Regions from separate parts of the Homo sapiens genome. Here region 2 is linked to region 1. Evidence: promoter capture Hi-C in human tissues and cell types (Jung and others, 2019). All regions are on one chromosome and are shown on one strand. The core of a region is centred on a gene start or on the middle of the fragment in contact, and the rest is flanking DNA. Distances in the headings are between cores, read along the strand shown.

What was found. Contacts are between HindIII fragments. The study calls those that stand out against the background at their distance.
Region 2: a contact is called between a fragment that was not itself captured here and the fragment with the promoter of ST14 in region 1, in 1 of the 25 tissues and cell types used here (thymus).

The regions. Positions count from the first base shown.
Region 1 is chr11:130,157,135-130,164,297 of GRCh38, forward strand. It overlaps ST14 (ST14 transmembrane serine protease matriptase), which reads left to right and starts at 2,648. Exons shown (of 19, transcript NM_021978.4): 1 at 2,648-2,926. The coding sequence starts at 2,846. RefSeq lists silencers at 2,527-2,646, 2,727-2,796 and an enhancer at 3,884-4,383. The HindIII fragment of the contact is 3,998 bases long and covers 1,636-5,633 here.
Region 2 is chr11:130,092,738-130,099,900 of GRCh38, forward strand. All of the region lies in intron 1 of APLP2 (amyloid beta precursor like protein 2), which reads left to right. Among named protein-coding and RNA genes, the nearest start is that of APLP2, 26 kb to the left of the region's middle. The HindIII fragment of the contact is 5,421 bases long and covers 1,728-7,148 here.

The DNA.
Region 1 (7,163 bases), core at 1,398-3,897:
TATCCCCATGCAGCCATCCTAGGGGAAGGGTCTTGTCCTGCATCGCTTTCTCTTCATCTGCACTAGCAGTCAATGCATTGCATTCATACGGCATCCAAATCACGCTGAGCGCCCAGCTCTACGAGATAAAAGATGAGGCCCTAGGAAGTGGGGAGACAACGTGAGTCACTGCGTTTGCAGCAGCACAGAAGGTCTGTGTGTCAGGAGTACCATCTCATTTACGTCACATTGAATTTGGCTTACTTTCCATCACTCACACTAGTTGAAGAATGCTGTGCCATTGGTAATCCAAAGGAAAATTTATTTTTATATATTTTCTTTTTCTTTTTTTTCTTTTCTTTTTTTTTTTTTTTTTTTGAGAGATGGAGTCTCGCTCCAGGCTGGAGTGTAGTGGCATGATCCCGGCTCACTGCAACCTCCACTTCCCAGGTTCAAGCAATTCTCCTGCCTCAGCTTCCCAAGTAGCTGGGACCACAGGCATGCACCACCATGTCCAGCTAATTTTTGTATTTTTAGTAGAGATGGTGTTTCACTATATGTTGGCTAGGCTGATTTCAAACTCCTGACCTCAGGTGATCCACCCACCTCAGCCTCCCAAAGTGCTGGAAGCCAACGTGCCAGCCTTTTAGAAATATTTTCTGTTTAGCTTTGGAATGCTTTATGTGATGGAAGGCAGCAGATTCATTCTTCTTTCAATTAAATTGACCCAATATATTGTGTTAGTCATTGTGCTAGGCTTTGAGGGTGCAAAGGCAGTTAAGACACAGACAGAAAATGCAACGAAATGGTGGTGAGCTCCATGAGAGAGGTACAAACAGAGCTAGTTCTGGTTGAGAGGGAAGGAAACTCCTGGGGAGGAGGTAGCATATCAGTCAGGAAGCGTGAGGTTTGCAGCAATAACAAACAACCCTCAGCTCTCGGTGGCTTAACATCCCAAAAGCTGACTGACTCCTCATTCATGCTACATATCCAGTGTGTGTCATTGTAGCCACTTAGGGTCACAGGTCACAGAGTTAAACCTCTCAGAAGAGAGCAGGGCATTGTGCAGTGCCTCCTTATGCTGCTATGTACAAGTGGTGTGTCCTCTCATTGGACATTTTCTTGGTTACCGCTAGCCATACTGCCATACCTAACTTCAGAGAAGAGAGAGTAACACCCTGGCCTGTGCCCAGAAGGCAGAGAGCTAAAAACATTCAATGAACAACACTAAAAAACCCCATCGGTGTCTTCGACCCAATATGCGGAAGGAGTATGAAGGAGAAGAGCTTCCAGGGGATGAAAAGCTTTATGAAAGCTGCCAAGATCAGAACGCCTGGCTGGAGAGAGGGGCTCCAAACAGGAATGCTTGGAGGCACGGTGTTAAGGGAGGACAGGGCAGAGTGTGAAGCTGGGCTAAGGAGGTTGGATTTGATCCGGGAGACACGGAAAGTCATAAAGGAGCTGTGGTTTCAGATTTACCTGACTGCTTTGTGTAGGAGAGATCAGAGGGTGGCAGCCCAGAGGCAGGAGATCTTTCTTAACCAGGCAAAGGGCTCTGAGGACTCGAATAGCGGTCTTCTAATGCGCAGGAATGGAAGGGCTATGCTTGTCAGCAGAGTCTTGATCAGATTTGGAACTAATTGGATATGAGATGTAAGCAGGGTGGAGAATCAAAGATGATTCCAGGATTTGAGCCTGGGAGAATGCTGCCATTAGAATTAGAGAAAACAGTGGAAAATGGGCAAGTCAGGGAAGGAAGATGGGGCTTGTTGATCTCAAAGCAGGGATTTTTATTTTGTTCACTCCTGTTTCCCTGTACCCAGGACAGTGCTTAGCGCCTAGTGTGTGCTTGGTAATGTTCATTGGCTACAGAATACAGTAGAACATAAATGGAGACGTCCCCAGGCGACCGCTAAGGCAGAACTGGCACTCCTTGGTGGTGTCTGTGCTGGGAGGGAGGTCTTCCTGTCTGAAGTCGTAAGATGAGACGTGCTGCCAAGAGAAAAAGCTTAGAGAAGAAAGGGATGAAACTGAAGGGAGAACTTTGGGAATCATGACATTTAGGACTAGAAAGGAGGACCGGAATCCAGGGAAAGGGGGCATTTGAGGAAGCATCAGATGCTGCAAGTGGGCGAGGGGCGTTGGGATGGCTCAGAGGGCATCTGGTGGCACAGCTCATGTCACTGGGCCTCCCCAGGGTAGCCGGGCGCAGGCCAGCAAGCGCCTCCCGCCTGGAGAACAGGAGGCTGCGTAGCCGACGGGGAGCCTGGGCCAGGGGCGGTTCTGGTTTCTGTTTGGTTTTGGGGGGTTCATAAATGCGATTTAGTCCTGTAGCAAAGTGAGCAAGGTGAAGGGGAGAGACCGGAGGCGCATGAGGGAGGAGGGAAAAGATGGTTGGCATCAAGGAGGTGGATAAAGGGCTGCCCTCCCGGGGCAGGGCCCCTGGAGGGCCGGAGGGGTGGTGAACGCCGTCGTGGTGATGGTGAGGGCCTTAGCGACCACCACCCGAGTGAGGCCCCCTCACCTTCAGGCCCAGAGCCGAGGGGAGGAGCCTCCCCCAGGGCCGGCGGGGGCGGGCAGGTGAGCCGGGCAGGTGCGCAGGCGAGCGCGGCGGGCTGGGCGGGCCGAGGCCACACCCTGAAACTACCTGCGTGGGCCGGGCCGGAGTGTGAGAGCGGAGCTGCAGCCGGAGAAAGAGGAAGAGGGAGAGAGAGCGCGCCAGGGCGAGGGCACCGCCGCCGGTCGGGCGCGCTGGGCCTGCCCGGAATCCCGCCGCCTGCGCCCCGCGCCCCGCGCCCTGCGGGCCATGGGAGCCGGCCGCCGGCAGGGACGACGCCTGTGAGACCCGCGAGCGGCCTCGGGGACCATGGGGAGCGATCGGGCCCGCAAGGGCGGAGGGGGCCCGAAGGACTTCGGCGCGGGACTCAAGTACAACTCCCGGCACGAGGTGAGCGCGGGCCGGGGACCCGGGGCGCTGGGAAGCTCCTGCCCGCCCGACCCTGCAGCGCGGCGCTGGGCTCGGCCGGCTCCCCTGGCGTGTCCGTCGGTGGCCGAGCTCTGGGCGCACAGGTGGAATTTCCTGTTCAGCGGGTGCCGGGCCGCGGGCGGGCGGGGCTGGCCGGACCTTTGGTACCGGACCGGCTGCGCCCCGCCAGGGGGAGGCGGGAAGCCCCTGGGCCTTCCTGCGCCCTCGGTCCTTTCTTTCCCTGAGTTGAAAAAAGGGGCTCCGTCTCGGCCCCTCCATGACTCTCGCGCTGTTAGTGAACATCTGGAAGAAACCAGGGGCTTGGAGTGGGGTTATTTGGGAGGAAGTGAAATTTCAGGAGGGTTTGGAGTCTCAGCCATCCTTGGCCTCTGCAGAAAGTTTCTTTCGTCTCTCTCCTTCCCCGTCAAAAGGCGCTTTGGGACCTCGCAGAGGACAACTGGGAGGCCAGGGCTTTGGCTGCCATACGGGCTGGAGCTAAGAACTCCAGAGTTGGGCTTGCCTGGGCTTCTCGAGAGGGGATGGAGCCCTTTGGGAAGGCGGCTGTATGGGAAGGGATGTGGGAACACACATGTCTTGAGCCTTTTGCGAAGTACCGAAACAGGAAGCTCTTCTTTGGCAGAAAGAACAATGAAAGACCTATTGAAAGATCTCAAAAAGATTACATGTTCCTGTATGGAGTTGGGGATGGGTCGCTAGTCACTTCATTGACGGACCCACCTAGGTGGTAGTGCCCGGGCGGGACCAGCAGCCAGGTCTCTACCCTCTCTGTCCAAGGCAGACCCCCAGGTTTCCTGGAAGGCCAGGGCATACCAGGTCAGGGCGGCGCTGAGAGGCAGGGGCTGTGTGGCAGAGAGTTTTGCTCCTCTGCAAATGATGGCCTCCCTGCCCTGCCAACCCTCACTTTCTCCCCTCCTTCCGGGTGCCCCTGGGCTCCATAGTCTCCGCCGTTGCTCCCTAAGTCAGGCCTGATTTTGGTGCTGTCTCAGATCAATTCCTTTTGTCCAAGCAGCATCCCGACCTAGGGAGCTTGCAGAAAATCAGACGCTGGGGCTTTGGAGGCTGCCTGCACCACAGACAGGACCTGGGGCTGGGCTCTGCTATTTTCTCCACTTTTCACCCTCAGCAAGGAGGAAAGCTTCCAGTGGACCTGAAGGCTTGGGCCCTTCCCCTGGCTGTGCCTGTGCCCTGCTGTGAGGCAGATTCACCTTCTCTTCCTTGCTGTAATTGCTATGTTTGTGTCCTTGCTAATTGCCTACTTGGGGTTCTAGACTCCCTGCCTCTTCAGCAGAGAACCTGCTGTTTGGAATTTGTTATTTCAGGGCAGTCCGGTGCCCCCACCCCAAGTTTGTTCTCCCTGACTTCCCTTTCTAGGACTCTCCTGCCCACACGGGGAAAGCAGGGTCTTCCTGGTCGTGTGGTCCAGCCTCCTCTCTGAGCCATCTCACCACCTGACAAGCAGCCAGGCTGGGGCTCACCTTCCACTCACCCCCAGGATCCCACATTCAGCGGACTTGTCTTGTCACCTGCAAGCCCTGGCTTTAGTTTCCCCCATCCCTGCTCATTTCCTCCTCCTCTGCGAAGCTCATTTGCTCTCTGCGCCCTTGGGCTGTTCCTTCCCCCTCTGCCATTTTCATTCTCTTGGCTTGCTCTTTGTCTTTTCTCCTGCCGAGCTTTATTGAACTAACTCAGTACCTAGTCCCATGGGTGAAGGGAAGGCTCTCAGAGACCAGTAAGATGTGGTTGTTTCCTTTAAAGAACATCCAGTCTTGAGAGCGAAACTAAGAGACGAATGCCAAAGTTAGCTGTGAGGCGGAGTGTCCAGAGGAAATTGGCCAAAGCTCATTTCCATGTCTTGCAGATTCCTCCCATCCCTGGCCTCACCAGAAATCCCAGTCCCTGGGATCACCCTGTAGTGTGTGTTTGCAGCTAGGATGTCCATCCCCGGCCGGGAGGTGTGGCTGCTGCCCCTGGGTTTATTATCTGGGTCAGCAGAGCCTGGCCCACAGGGTGCTGTTGTTTCTGGGTTCCTTGTCCCCAGTTGCATCCATCCGTGCACCCTTGTTTGGTGGTATTTGTATCTGGCTGTCCCCTTCCCAAGGCTGGTGGTGTGGCCCCTGCCCCACCCCTGCTGTTCCCATCAAGTGTTCTGCGTGGCCTTCAGAGTCCTGATGCACGTTACTGCATCTGGGGATGGTGTGAGCCCTGCCTGCAAGCAAGCAGGGAAACAGATGCCACTTCTTATGGCCATTAATGAGAGCCAGGGAGCCTGCCTCCCTGAGGGTCTTGATTCCTGTTGAGTATTTGATGGTGAATATGAAGCTGCCTTGACATCCACTGGTTCCTTTTCCGATCACAATTGCCCTAGGTAAGACTCAGCATCCCTTAGGCATCCAGAGACCAAGTTTGGAAAAATCGGATGTTGTGTGGCCAAAATCAGATGTCTAGGGGCCAGGGTGTACACCTCTGGCTATTCAGAGGGTCACCTGCTTGTTAATTTGTCAACCATTCAGGCATTCATTCACATAACAATATCTGCTAGGTAACCCACTGACTGAGCCTGTGCCAGGTGCTGGGAAATAGCAGTGAGGAAGACCCTAGACTCACAGCCCCTGTCCTTGGGACCACCCAAGGTAGTGTGGGGTACAGGGAACTGAATTCTGACTCATGAGTACTAGCTTCTCGATATGCACTGGGTGAGCACATGGCATCTCTCTAACCCAGGCTGGAAGGGCCAGGTCAGCAAATTAGGGCTGCAGGCATCTGTGATGTGGTGGCAGGAGGTAACATGCAGCCAAGACCCGGGGCCGCCTTGTCTAGCCACGTGATCTCAGAGATGTTACTCAATATCTCTAAGCCTTGGTTTCTGTGGCTATAAAATGGTGATGACATATATGTTCCAGGTTTGTTGAAAGGATTAAGAGGGGTACTTTACATGAAAGCCCTTTGTAAGTTGCAGTGTGGTGTTCAAATGATGCAGCTTGAGTTTTTGAGTTGAAAGGGACTTGAGACAAGCAAGAAGATCGTATAGTATCAGTAGGTCGCCTGTCGAGAGGCTGAGAACCCAGGCTGTCAGTGGGGCCCTGACCTCACAGAGGAGCCATCCTGCCCTGCCAAACACAGGGAAGTGCCCCCAGGATTCAAGGAACTGCTCGCCAGCAACAGAGACCTCTTCCTAAGACCTTCTGATTTTCATTCCCCTGCTTTACCCAGCTTCTAGGAGAAATATCTTTCTATGAAAAGAAAATGTGTGCCAGCTGCATATCCCTTTCTCCTTCTCATCCCCTGCCCCTCCCACCATAGAAAATTAAACTTTTATTTTGTTTTGTTTTTTAGACATGGGGGTCTTGCTATGTTGCCCAGGCTGGACTCAAACTCTTGGGCCCAGGTGATCGATCCTCCTTGTCTCAGACTTCTAAGTAGTTGGGATTACAGGCGTGAGCCACTGTGCCCACATAAAACTTTAGAGAACTGCCTTTTTTGTTCTCTAGAGCATGTGCTGGGCAGGTGTGTGCAGTGGGTGAGGAAGAGGGTTGGGAAGGCAGAAAGCAGCAGGAAGCTAGGATTGTCCTGTAGGTGGGGCTTCAGCTGCTGGAGTGGACCGGAAATCTGCCTTCTCCAGGGGCTTTCTGGAGCCTTCCCTCTGCCTTGGTCCTGAGAACACCTGGAAATTCCTCGTTTAGGAGTTGAGAAAACTGAGGAAGAGGAGAAGATGCCCCTAGTTTGATGGCTGCCTTCGCCTGCTAGCAGTGGAAATGGTCAGAGGGTGGACCTGCTCGAGCCGACTTGCTGGCCTGTTGCCACGTTGTCACCGGCTGCGGAAGGAGAACGAGTCACAGCTCCCTCCCCCTACCTGACCCTCACTCTGCTCCCTGGGAACCAGACTACCAGACTGCCTACTGCTGTGGCCAGTGGCTTCTGTCCCTCGGAACACTGTGGCCCTCAAGTTCCCTGATGTCTGCTCCTTCTCTGGTCTGTGGTTCTGCCAAGGCTGGTGGCTCATGTCTCTTTTAAAAGAGAAGTTGTCTTTGGAAGAGGAAGGGAAACGTGACAGAGTCCCCTGGGAGCCCAGGTCCTGAAGATGATGTTGCTTCTGATATTGTGCAATGATTACTGGAGTGTCTAGAATACTAATAATGATGAACACTAATAATCGTTAGCATTTATTGAGCATGGCTGGCTGCTTGTCTTTTTTCCTGCC
Region 2 (7,163 bases), core at 3,188-5,687, 63 kb before region 1:
GTCTTGATGATAGAATACCACTTAGTTTGCAATACAGTTAACGTATGAATAAACTAACAAAGAACAGGAAGGGAGAGATGCCTATGAAATCTTGAAGATGGCAAACAGACTGAGCCAGCAAATCAGAAAAGGCTGAGACCTCATCTTAGCCGGGAGGAGCCAAGTAAAAGCAACCTCATTTGCAGAGCAAACTCAGATCTGAGAGATAGAAAGCACCAGGGCCTCTGAAGACATGCTGAGGCCCCAGGGGACATAGATGAAACTAAATGTGAGCATTTAGCCCCCTGAATACCCCTCCCTACCTGGCAGTCTAGGAAAAGACTTGAGGTTTACTTGGGGAGAGTGGGCCCAGCAGAAGGTGAGGGACTGAGCAGTGAAAGTCTCCCTAACCAGGCCCGGGGCAGAGAACTGACTGAAGGATTCCTCCCTGGAGAGGCAAAGGCCGCTCTTGACCTTGTGCATGTGCAGGAAACTTCCAGAAACTTCCAACCATCTTCTTAGTGTTCCCTTCTTAAATGTGAATTAGATGGCTTAGGATCACCAAAGACTTCAGGAACACCTTGAACATGAACGAGAACAAAACAAGAAGAAAAAGCAACTTGAAGGCAATGTAGGGAATAGACAAAGACAAGTTCTTACCTCAAAGGAGAGAAGAGGGGGCATAACATCTATGAAGTAATTGTTTGAAATTTAAAGACGTTCAGATAACAAAGGGTTCTTGGAAATTAGAAATGTGGAAGCAGAACTAAGACCCCAGTAGAAATCTTCCAGAAGGAGAAAACAAAAAGAAACTAGAAAAGATAAGTAGAAGGTCAATCTAGGAGGTCTAAGAGATAACTAATGAGAATTTCAGAAAGAGAATAGCAGAAACACAGGACTGTGTGTGTCCAGGCCAACAGGGCCACTGAGAGCTCAGGCCAGTGAGTGATGAAAAGAGCACACCAAGACATGTTAGGTTGAAAGTTCAGAATACCAGAGATTGGGAAAATCTTGGAACTTTTATTTTTTATTTATTTTTTTTTTTGAGACAGGGTCTCACTTTGTTGCTCAGGCTGGAGTGGAGTGGCATGATCTCACGTCACCGCAACCTCCGCCTCCCTGGTTCAAGCTATGCTCCTGCCTCAGCCTCCCGCGTAGCTGGAATTACAGGCATGTGCCACCACGTCTGGCTAATTTTTTTTGTATTTTTAGTAGAGACAGGGTTTCACCATGTTAGCCAGGATGATCTTGATCTCCTGACCTCGTGATCCGCCTGCCTTGGCCTCTCAAAGTGCTGGGATTACAGGCGTGAGCCACCACTCCCGGCCGTATTTTTTTTTTTTTTTTTTTTTTTGAGACGGAGTTTCTCTCTTGTAGCCCAGGCTGGAGTGCAATGGGGCGATCTTGGCTCACCACAACTTCTGCCTCCCGGGTTTAAGCGATTCTCCTTCCTCAGCCTCCCAAGTAACTGGGATTACAGGCATGCGCCACCATGCCCAGCTAATTTTGTAGTTTTAGTAGAGACGGGGTTTCTCCATGTTGGTCAGGCTGTTCTCGAACTCCCAACCTCAGGTGATCTGCCTGCCTTGGCCTCCCAAAGTGCTGGGATTACAGGTGTGAGCCACAGTGCCTGGCCTAATTTTTGTATTTTTAGTAGAGATGAGGTTTTACGATGTTGGCCAGGCTGGTCTTGAATTCTTGACCTCAAATGATCCACTCACCTCGGCCTCCCAAAGTGCTGGGATTACAGACGTGAGCCACCGCACCTGGCCGGGATTTACTTCTATATGTAAAAAAACCCAGACCTGCACAAAGGATTGGGAAGATTGGCTTTAGATTTATCAATAGCAGTGCTGAAAGCTAGAAGACCTCAAATTCTGAGGGAAATTATTTCCAGCCTTTAATTTAGCGTTCATCCAAATTATTGACAAGACGTGTACATAAAATAAAAACCTTTTTGGGATCTGTCATGTTTGAATTTTCCATTCACACACCCTTTCTTAGGAAGCTATGGAGCACTGTGAGCCACTAAAACAGGAAGTTGAGAAAGAGGGAAGTACTGAGTCAAAACCAAAGAAAGGGGAAGGAATTTTCAGGACTCATGAGAGCTGTGCCGAGGCAGAGAGAGTAACTGGTCCAGATGAAGCAGGGAAATGGAGGGCCAGAGGAGGGATGCATTCTAGAAAGGAGGGACTGAAACCAGTGGGTCAGCTAGTGTGTCTGACTACACTGAAGGGAATTTTACTGATCTTTTCTGACAATTTCAGGGAGAATTGGTAGTCAATGCAATGCGTGTGAAACCAAGCAAGTAAAAGAAGATGCAGTTGCTTACTCTAATGGGGAAATAGATGCCTAGAAAGGAATTGTAATCACAGTACGCTTTTATGTTATAATGAGATAGACCAGATGCGTGGTTCACACCTGTAGTCCCAGCTCTTTGGGAGGCTGAGGCGGAAGGATTGCCTAACACCAGTAAGATTCTGTCTCTACAAAAAAGTAATGAAAATTAGCTGGATGTGGTGTGGCATGTCTGTAGTTACAACTACTCGGGAGGCTGAGGCCGGAGGATTGCTTGAGTGCAGGAGTTTGAGACTGCAGTGACCTATCATTGCACCACTGCACTCCAGTTTGGGTGACAGAGAGAGACCTTTCTTTAAAAGTAATAATTACAATGGAAATGAAGTATTGATTTGACCATGGGACAAGTGGGTGGATGGGTGTAGGGTTTGGCAGTTTAAGAATTAAAAACATTGGAGGATAATATCTGGACTGAAAAGATACAGAAATAAAACATGTTGTGTAGAAATGTGGAGATAAAGAGCAGGTGGAAGGCCTGATAGCTGTGGAAGCACAGTCTCTGCAGAGCAGGCTCCACTTGGGTGGAAGCTGTCCTTCTCGTGTGAGCTCTAGCCTTGTACTGTGTGGCTTCTCAAACTGTGTGCTTGGAGTCACTTGACAAAAATTAAAATTAAGAGAATGGAAACTTGCCATCTTGCATAAGTTTTTTTGTCATTTAATTTGTCAACTTTTAGTAGGTCTCCTTGTATGGAGACTAGTACACTGTTGATTTAGAAATACCTGCAGGTTGATACTAGTTTAGTGCAGTATCTTGAAGAAACCAAGAGCATAGACTTTAGAGTCAGTTGTTTACTTGGGTATAAATGATGAGCTACTGCATGCTAGGGGCTGTTCCCAGATAACAGTGGTTAGGAAAATACATGAGGCCTCTCCCCTTGACGAAGTCACATTCTAGTGATGGGAGATGGACACTGCAGATGAATGAGCAAGGTCGTTTCAGATTGCTTGAGAGAGATAAAACCTGGAATGGGTTGGAGGAGAAGGCCTTCCACGGAATGCCCCTTTGAGCAGAGTCCTGAGGGTGAGACCACCACACTTGCTTGGGAACAGCAGGGGAAGGCTTCGAGTTCTGGGAGTTCATTAGAATTCAGGACAGTCATCCTCAACAAGAGAGGACAGTTGGCCTTGAGGTGAGACAGACCCTGGCTTGTGACATCAAGGGTGGTGCTGGACTGGAGGGATGCTGGAGTGTGGCAGGGGCTGCATCATGGTGGGCCTTGCAAGCCACATTAGCCACTCTGAATTCTCTGGAATAGAAGAGCAGTGTGTTCTGCCTTGAGGTGATTCAGAGTGCTGGGTAGAGACTGGATCCTGGAGGGCTCCCAGTGCCCACCTGACAAGTAGTACAAAAGTGCTGTTGAGGCTGGGCCCTGTGGCTCATGCCTGTAATCCCAACACCTTGGGAGGCTGAGGCTGGGGAATTGCATGAGACTTGGAGTTTGAGACCAGCCTGGGCAATATAGCGAGACCTCATCTCTGCAAAACATTTAAAAATTAGCCAGGTGTGGTGCTGCACGTCTGTGGTCTCAGCTCCTCAGAAGGCCAAGGCAGGAGGATCACTTGAGCCTGGAAGTTCAAGGTTATAATCAGCCGTGATTGCACCACTGAACTCCAGCCTGGGTGACAGAGCAAGACCCTGTCTCTAAAAAATACCAAAAAAGGTGCTGTTGTATTTTACACCATGCAGGTTCATGTGTGCTTACACACACGTTTATATTCCTTTTATTCATTCTTTTTACTCGAGGGTAGCTTTTCCTGCTGTCGTTTATGCATTTATTAGTAGTTAGGTGGTTTGAACCCCAGAAGGTTAACTAATAGCCAGTGCAGCAAGCAGTAAATATACTGACTAGTGGCTCATACTTGCTTTATTACTTCAGTTTTTTAAATTGTTGATAATTACAATAATGCACATGGGCATGGGTCCAAGACAGGAAGAATTATTGTCTGCAAGCAGATCTGCTGTAAGCTGGTAATACAGTCTGATTTACTTTTAAATTTAAATGCCACATAAATCACAGGAAAGATGTCTTTTAACTTGCTTTGAATTTGGAAAGGGTAGAGCACTTTCGTATTTTTGTTATTTTCATGGTTTTAATGGGCATTAGAAGTTAAATTGATTTGTTATATCCAGATTGATATCTGAGTGTTGTGTGCACCTAATAAAATGTTTAGCGGAATGACTATAGAAATTTGTATTTAAAGTGTAAAGTTTCTCTCTCCCTGCCCTGTGAAAATCATTTTGGCAAATTGTCAGATTTTCTTGTTATAAGCAAAGATATGGGTTATTCACCCAAGAATTTCATGCCTTTCAGCATAGCAGAACCTTAGAAATTTAAGGACCAGGTATGGCGACTCATGCCTGTAATTCTAACACTTTGGGAGGCCAAGGAGGGAGGATTGTTTGAGGCTGGGAGTACAAGACCAGCCTGGGCAATATAGTGGGACCCCGTCTCTGCAAAAAATGTTTGTTTAATTAGCCGGGTGTAGTGGTGTGTGACTGTAGTCCCTGCTACTTGTGGGGCTGAGGTGGGAGGATTGCTTGATCCTGGGAGGTTGAGGCTGCAGTGAGCTCCAGCCTGGGCGACAGAGTGAAACTCTGGCTCAGAAACAACAACAACAAAATACCCACAAGAAAAACCTAAACCTGTGATTTCCAGTGTTTGGTTTTTATGGAATAATGGAACTAAGAAAAATGTTTTAAATAGATAAGGTTGTTCTTGGTTAATATTACAGAAGAATAATTTTTAAAAAGCAGCTACCTGTTGATTGTTGCCATCATTTTATGAAACCATTTTAATAACAAAAGGTAGAAGATAATGTTAGAATTCAGGACAGTTATTCTTCAGCAAGGACCATTAGCAGTTCTGTACCCTTACGCGTGGATGTGTGCACAACACATGCACACTAGACCTTTCTTAGGTTTCTCATTTTTCAGGGGGGCCACTGGAAACCTTTTGTAGACCCTGTTAGTCCCCTAGTGGATGCTGGGGACCCCTCCCTGCTTTAAAACACTGGCAAAAATCATCATATATATTAAAACATGGATATTTGGCCGGGCGCGGTGGCTCACGCCTGTAATCCCAGCACTTTGGGAGGCTGAGGTGGGCGGATCATGAGGTCAGGAGATGGAGACCATCCTGGCCAACACGGTGAAACCCCATCTCTACTAAAAATACAAAAATTAGCCGGGTGTGGTGGCACGTGCCTGTAATCCCAGCTACTTGGGAGGCTGAGGCAGGAGAATTGCTAGAACCCGGGAGTCGGAGGTTGCAGTGAGCTGAGATCACACCGCTGCATTCCAGCCTGGTGACAGAGGGAGACTCCGTCTCAAAAAAAAAAAAAAAGATGTTTTCAGTTGCATGAATTTGTTTTCTTATTTTTTCCCAGATACGTTAAAGGAAAAGAGATCTAGTGAAGTCAATTTCAGATCTCTGACATTGGTTATTCATGTTTGTGGTTTTAACCTCTTGAAGTCAGTTACAGCATTTCAGCCAAAGCTGGCATGTTGGATAGTTTCTCAACTTAGCCTTGGTAAAATCACTAATTCAAGTGTTTATTTAGTGAAATAGTTGGTCAGAAAAATGGAATATTTTAAAAAGAAGTGTAATTTTTTACAAGTACATGAAATACTCAAACTATGCTTAATCTGATTTTTAGTGACTGGCTTAATGCATATAAAAACAAAGTATATATCATAGAGTACCAGGTCAGCCAGAGGAAGCTTATAATTTCTGAGAGTATTGCCAGGTTTGTGCTTGGATATTCTACAGAAAACCCTTCATCATTTGTATTATTTCTGTCATCTGAATCAATAAGAATGATTTAGAATAAACATATTTTATTATTAATATTTAATGAGTAGTACTTCTGAGTGTTACTTGAAATCATTTCACTCTTTTAAGGTTTAGAAAACATATCCTTCTACATCCCCCCACCCCTGCTCTGCACGTACTAGTCAGCACACTCTTAATAACTGCCTAAGTAATGCTGGCCAGTGAGTTCAAATGTTAAGCCCAACTTCACACCATTTAGATCATCTTATATTAATTCTGAGGCCTCCTGCCTTCCTGACCTCTGCAGTTAGCATGCCTGACAAAGTATGAGAAATGTCTGGTTTGCTTTGGAGTCACAGTGAATTCTGACTTAGTGAGGGAGGCCATCTTCATTTCTAAGCCATGTTTCTCCTGCATGGGGAGTTTTAGGAAAATAGAGTTCCATCTGTTATAGTGTGAAAAAAAGTTAATATTGTAGGTGTCTCATTTAATAACTAAACTTTGAGTAGCACCCTATTTATGTTGCACAAAAGTGAAAACTAAGGTCAAGAGAGATTAAATAACTTCCATGAGATTACATAGCAAGGAAGCAGAATGTCCATCAGGAAAACCAGTTTAGAAAAATAATTTACATAGTGCTCTTCTGATCACAGAAGTGTTTTGATAGTTGCAGATTCATCTTGACTTCACTTCCAAGTCCCGGAAGCTGGGCTAGAGCCAGGAAGTCAGCAACTCTTGGCCATTTTCTTTTAAATGTATTAAATCATTCATCTAAACGTTTGGTGACTGAATTCCCACAAAATATGAAGCATTAATGCAACCTGCTTTCCTCATGTCCATAGTTAATGTGTGAAGAAGGAATGTGCACTCTTTTAAACCCATTTCATGCCATCCTGGATTTGGGAAGGATGGCCAGTCATGTGGGGACTTTGTGGCCTCTTCCCTTGTGCACCTCGGGTTCAAGCCCCAGTTCTGCGCAATTGCAGCCAGAGAGTGGAAAGAGCCAGCCTGATGATGATGGTGATGCTAACGTGCTTGCTCTGCGGCAGGCAT